Linked DNA regions of Homo sapiens: region 1 is linked to region 2. Evidence: promoter capture Hi-C in 16 types of primary human blood cells and fetal thymus (Javierre and others, 2016). All regions are on one chromosome and are shown on one strand. Each heading gives the region's core, a stretch centred on a gene start or on the middle of the fragment in contact. The rest is flanking DNA. Distances are from core to core; before and after follow the strand shown.

Region 1 (2,802 bases), core at 197-2,696, 680 kb after region 2:
CTGCTGGACTTTTCGAAGGGAAAGAATAGAGCTTGCTGATGGGCGAGTTGGTCCATCGCCTTTAGGGTATGTCCACCTCTGTTCACTTCCTCCAAGGAAAACGCCGGAGGGGATCTCTGCCGTCACCCTCAGGCAGCCAGAGATTCATGGGGGAAGCAAAACTTCCCCTCGGAGGGTGGAGCATAAGTCGAGGACACTGATTATTCTGTATCCTGTGTTTGTAAAATGGCAGTTTATAGATTGTTTATACAGTGATGGAGTGTTGACATTTTGATAGAAAATTTCAGGTCAGGTTTTGTGGCCTGCGCCAGGAAATCGAATTCGCAATGGTTTATGTGGGGTCAGGAGCTGGGAATAGGAGCATTCAGGAGGGGCTGGGAGATGTCCCGAGCTCTAGGCCTTCCTTCCTTCCTGCAGCAGGAGGCACCCAGCTGAAACAGTGTGCGTGCTGGGCGGTGTGCGTTGTGCCAGGCGGTGTGTGTTTGTGCCGGGCGGTGTGCGTTGTGCCGGGCGGTGTGCGGTTTGTGCCAGGCGGTGTGTGTTTGTGCCGGGCGGTTGGCGTTTGTGCCGGGCGGTGGGCGTTTGTGCCGGGCGGTGTGTGTTGCGCTAGGTAACGTGTGTTTAAAGAGCCAGATGGTTTGTGTTTCAGGCTTTGCTGTAATGCCTCAGTTGTGAACACAGCTGTAGATGATGTAGGTGGATAGATGGGCGACGTTCCAATGACACTTTGTGAATGAACACCGACATTTGAAGTGTATATGATTTTCACATTTCACCAAGTATTTTTTGTTTGTATTGACATTCTTGGCTTGTGGGCCACACAGAAACAGGCAGGGGCTGGGGAGGTAGATGTGGCCCTTGGGCAGTAGTTTGCAGACCCTGCTCTAGAAAAGGGGAGAATGAAGATGGGAAGGCAGTGGTGGTCCCTGCCACACGTGCGTGCGGCATCCATGCACGGAGAGTCTCCCCCCGCCCATCCTCTGCGTGTGGGGCAGTTGGGTCAGGCCAGCTCGCATCCCCAGGTCTTCAGAGGAGCAGCTGAGCCGCGCCTACCGCCTGCTGATAGCACAGCTGACCCAGGAGCACGCCGAGATCCGTCTCTCAGCCTTCCAGATTGTGGAGGAACTCTTCGTCAGGTCTCACCAGTTCCGGATGCTGGTTGTTTCCAACTTCCAGGAGTTCCTGGAGCTCACGCTGGGCACAGACCCCGCACAGCCTCTGCCGCCCCCCAGGGAGGCGGCACAGAGGCTGAGGCAGGCGACCACCCGGGCCGTGGAAGGGTGGAATGAGAAGTTTGGGGAGGCCTACAAGAAGCTTGCCTTGGGCTACCACTTCTTAAGACACAACAAAAAGGTAGGTGGGCCTGGCCCATTTTTTCAGAGACTGGTTACCTGACGTGAGGAGGGCAGACGATACCAGGGTGAAGATGCGCCTCCTGTTGAACCTAGCACAGCAGGGGCCTGCTTGGCCTTGCCTGAACACCCAGGCTGCCAGACCATCTGTGGGGTGTGGGAAAGAGGGCAGCATCTAGGGTCACGGCCTCCCTGAGAGGGGCGGCGCAGCTCTGAGAGGAAGAGCATAAGCTTTATGTGTGGGTGGAGCTGAGGCTGCATGTGTCATTTTTTATGTGCGTGTAGGAGACAAAGGAAAAGCCAAATCCAACTTTTCAGATGCAACGTTTTCTGTGACAGTGGCCCCTGGACTCTGGGACCTGTCCCAACCTTGCACTTTAAGGCTCCACCCGCACCCTACTATGGGCTCGGGCTGGTGCCTGGCATGATGAAACCCACCAGGATCTGCCACTGTGGCCTGAACCCAGCCTCATTGCCCAGACCCTACCGTGCCCCTTACCCCACCTGCCACGAAGGCTCAGTCCTCCCCAGTGCAATGACCCAGCCCTGCTGGCTTCCCTGTGTGCCCTTGGAGTGCCCTGTCTCCCAGGGTTCATGCTCAGGGTTTGTTTCAGACTCCTGGGTCCAGTCAGCAGCCTCTGCCTGCTAATGGAACAAGCACACTGCTCTCCTACCTGTGAGGTACTTGGGGTGAGAAGTCTCGTCACCTCTTTTAAGTTAGCAGACGTGCTGGCTTTCCCGGGCTCAGACAGCAGAGAGACGTGCATTGTGTTTTGTTGTAATGCACTGTGAACACCTGGGTGTGAGGGTGCACACCCACAGTCCCACTGACTCTGGAAGCCGAGGCTGGTGGATCACCTGGTCCTGGGAGTTTGAGTCCAGCCTTGGTAACACAGCAAGACCGTTGTCTCTTAAAAAAAAAAAAAAAAACTACTGTGAACTTACAGACGCATAGGGCTCTTGGCCACGCATGGGTGCTGTCTTTTGTTAGGCCTACTTGAGCTTTATCTTCCTCACATTCTGTATAGATAGCTCTAGTTTTTGTTGTTGTTGTTGATGATGTTGTTTTTGAGACAGGGTCTTGGTTTGTCACCCAGGCTAGAGTGCAGTGGCGCGATCTCGGCTCACTGCAACCTCCGCCTCCCTGGTCCAAGTGATCCTCCTGCCTCAGCCTCCCAAGTAGCTGGGACTACAGGCACACGCCACCACACCTGGCTATTTTTTGTTTTTAAGATGGAGTATTGCTTTGTTGCCCAGGTTGGAGTGCAGTGGTGCGATCTCAGCTCACTGCAAGCTCCACCTCCCGGGTTCACGCCATTCTCCTGCCTCAGCCTCCCAAGTAGCTGGGACTACAAGCACCCCCCACCACGCCCGGCTAATTTTTGTATTTTTAGTAGAGATGGGATTTCACCGTGTTAGCCAGGATGGTCTCAATCTCCTGACCTTGTGA
Region 2 (2,700 bases), core at 30-2,529:
CCTGGGAGGGACAATCTATAAGAGCCAGTGTCACTCGTACCTTCTGCCAATTCTCTGGCAATCCGTTTCAGTTCATCCTGCTTCTTCTTCTCTTCTGCTGCTATCCTCCTCTCCTCTTCTGCCCGAGGTTTTAGGTAATCTGTTTGGCGGAATGCAGGAGAATAAAATTCACTGGAAATGCTGTACAAAAGGAACTGAGTCCACAGGTCAAGGTATCTTCAGCGACGCTGTAAACCAGACGCACCTGCTGTTCCCGCTCTTTATGTTAATGCGAGTCAACGCCTGACCTTCACCCTGACGAGTCCAACCCAGAGGCTACAGGGCCCCTGCTGCCCACCCGCTCACGCACTGGCTCACTCGTCCTCTGCGAACAGGGACTGCCTCCCATCAAGACCTCAGCACTCGAACAGCCATTTAGCACCCGTTTTCACCAAGAAGCAGCCGTTTTCGAGTCCCCCGCCCGGGCCTCAGAAGCCTGAGCTTTGGGTGAGCTGATTCCACTATCGGGGTCACGCTCGGTGGAGGACACGGTCCTGCAGCCTCGCATGCGTCCCAAGCCCCCTTCCAGAGCTGGAGTTCTCCAAATAGCACAGGAGCTCCACAGGAAAGCCGAGCAGACCCCGCCCCGGCCCCGCCCGCGGTCACTCACTGTAGCGCGTGGCTCCGTAGGCCACACCGAGGAACAGGGCGGAGTAGCGGCCGAGCTGCGAAAGAGGTTGGTCAGAGGCGGCGCGAAACGGGGCTCGCGGGACGGGGGTCGCGGGAGGAGGGGGGGCGGGGTCGCTGGGCAGAGGTCGCAGGAGGGGTGGGGGTCCGGTCGCCGGGCGAGGGTCACGGGGCGAGGATCATGGGGGCGGGGGCCGGGGGTCGCAGCCCGCGGGGTCGGAGCTGCGGGGCGGGACACGGGGGGGCCCAGAGCACTGGGCGGCGGCTGCAAAGCCTGGATCACCTTGATGAGCGGAGAGACCTGCACCGGTGGCACCATCTTGTCCCTGACCTCCGCACCGGAAGCACAACCTGCAGACGGAGCAGGATGCCGCACAAGCCAGCAAAGCCTTGGAGGCAAAGGCGGAGCTGGGCGCACGCATGCGCCGTCAGCGGCGAGAGAGCGGGGGGCCGCGCCCCCTGGCGACCGAAGGGTGACTGCGCGCCCCCGCGCGGCGGTGACGTCACGTGAGGCGCACGCGCACAAAGGCTGGGGAGTGCGCGGAGGATCATCGGCTGCGCCTGCGCAGTTGCTGCGTGAGGCGGGATCTGCGCCGAGTGGGCGGGGGGTTTCCTTTCCCCGCAGGGCTGGGGGTCCGCTGTTTCCCCGCGCTGCTGCCGAGGCCCCGCCGTCCGCGTCCTGGCCGTGTGTCCACACCCCAGACTGCGGGCCGGGGCGCACTCTGTCTTCTTGCGCGGAGCGTCGGAGGCCTGAGGTCAGGGCGGCTCGGGCGGGTCCAGCCCCGCGGACCGCGCCCACCCGAGGGTGGCCTGGGCAGGGACCTGGGGGTCCTGGGAGCGGAGTGTGAGCCGAGTGCAGGTGGCTCCCCGGGCAGGTCCTTCTCCTACAAGGCAGTAGTGTCTGTCGCCGGCCGGGCCGCGTTGGATTCCGCGGCCCGCGGGAGCATGGCCTCCAGGCCCCTCTTCCTGCGGCTGCTCTGCCCGGGAGCACGGGGCGCCCTTCATCCCGGAGCTGGAGCTTCCTCACCCCAGGATGCCCCATCACTTCTGTCCCGAAGAGGGGCTGGGATCTTCTTGGGAAGACCAGCCCCCAACAGAGGCTGCTCCCTGGGTCCCCCGACTCCAGGCCTCAGGACTCCACGGCTCCAAGGGCCTGCCCCGGCCCAGGCCTGGGGACCACTGAGCCCCACACTGGTCTTTGCTGGCCTCTGTCCACCTCCCGGTAGCTGTGTGTCTCCCACAGCTGCCCAGAGATGGGGCCTGCGGTGCCTATGCAGCCTCCCCGCTGTGCCCGAAGTGCTGACCCGCCAGCCCCATGGACACCAGGCTTGGAGTCTAGGCAGGAGCCTGGCACCCCCTCCACGTTCTGGGTCTTCCTGGCGGCAGCCATGCTGCCCGTGCTGGGCCACCCTCGGGCCCCCTTTGGCCCCATGCAGTAGTGACGCAAGGCCTCCTGTGTCCCCTCCTGGCCCTGCACTGCTACAGGCAGAAGCAACTGGAGAACTATGGCTCGGGTCTCGCTAAGGTGCAGCATCACAAACTCCAGGACTCTTGAAGCAAGCATGGGGAGGACCCGTGATCCTGGCGGCCTGGGCTACCTGTCCGGGCCTAAGTCGCCTCTGCCCCCTCTCCTGGCTTGCTCTGGGGTCCAGGGCCTGGGCCTCTCTGGCTGAGAAACTAGGAAGTCACTGGGCTCTGTTTCCTGAGCTGGGTATACCAAGGCCAGTCCTATAGGGCAGGGGTCCCCAACCCCCAGGTGCAGACCAGTACCAGCTTGTGGCCCGTTAGGAACCGGGCAGCACAGGACGAGGTGAGGGAGCATGATTGCCCGAGCTCCACCCACTTTCAGATCAGCCTGGGCATCAGATTCCCATAGGAGCGTGAACCCTACTGTGAGCTGCGCACTTGGATCTGGATTGCGCTCTGGTGAGAATCTAATGCCTGATGAACTGAGGTGGAATAGTTTCATCCCGAAACCTTCCTCCCCAACACGGAAAAACTGTCCTCCGTGAAACCTGTCCCAGGCGCCAAAAA

Evidence for each region. The method cuts DNA at HindIII sites, captures the fragments that hold promoters and counts their contacts. A CHiCAGO score of 5 or more calls a contact.
Region 1: a contact is called between a fragment that was not itself captured here and the fragment with the promoter of MYL5 in region 2, in 2 of 17 cell types (naive B cells and total B cells). The highest score is 5.6, in naive B cells.

What each region holds. Positions count from the first base shown.
Region 1 is chr4:1,348,502-1,351,303 of GRCh38, forward strand. UVSSA (UV stimulated scaffold protein A) reads left to right here. Exons shown (of 14, transcript NM_020894.4): 3 at 1,023-1,353. Among named protein-coding and RNA genes, the nearest start is that of UVSSA, 2.7 kb to the left of the region's middle. RefSeq lists a silencer at 2,450-2,618. The HindIII fragment of the contact is 269 bases long and covers 1,313-1,581 here.
Region 2 is chr4:673,263-675,962 of GRCh38, forward strand. It overlaps MYL5 (myosin light chain 5), which reads left to right and starts at 1,280. Exons shown (of 9, transcript NM_002477.2): 1 at 1,280-1,421. It overlaps ATP5ME (ATP synthase membrane subunit e), which reads right to left and starts at 1,014. Exons shown (of 4, transcript NM_007100.4): 1 at 950-1,014; 2 at 650-704; 3 at 41-139. The coding sequence starts at 985. RefSeq lists enhancers at 1,146-1,903, 1,781-1,850 and a silencer at 1,301-1,570. The HindIII fragment of the contact is 4,723 bases long and covers 1-2,700 here.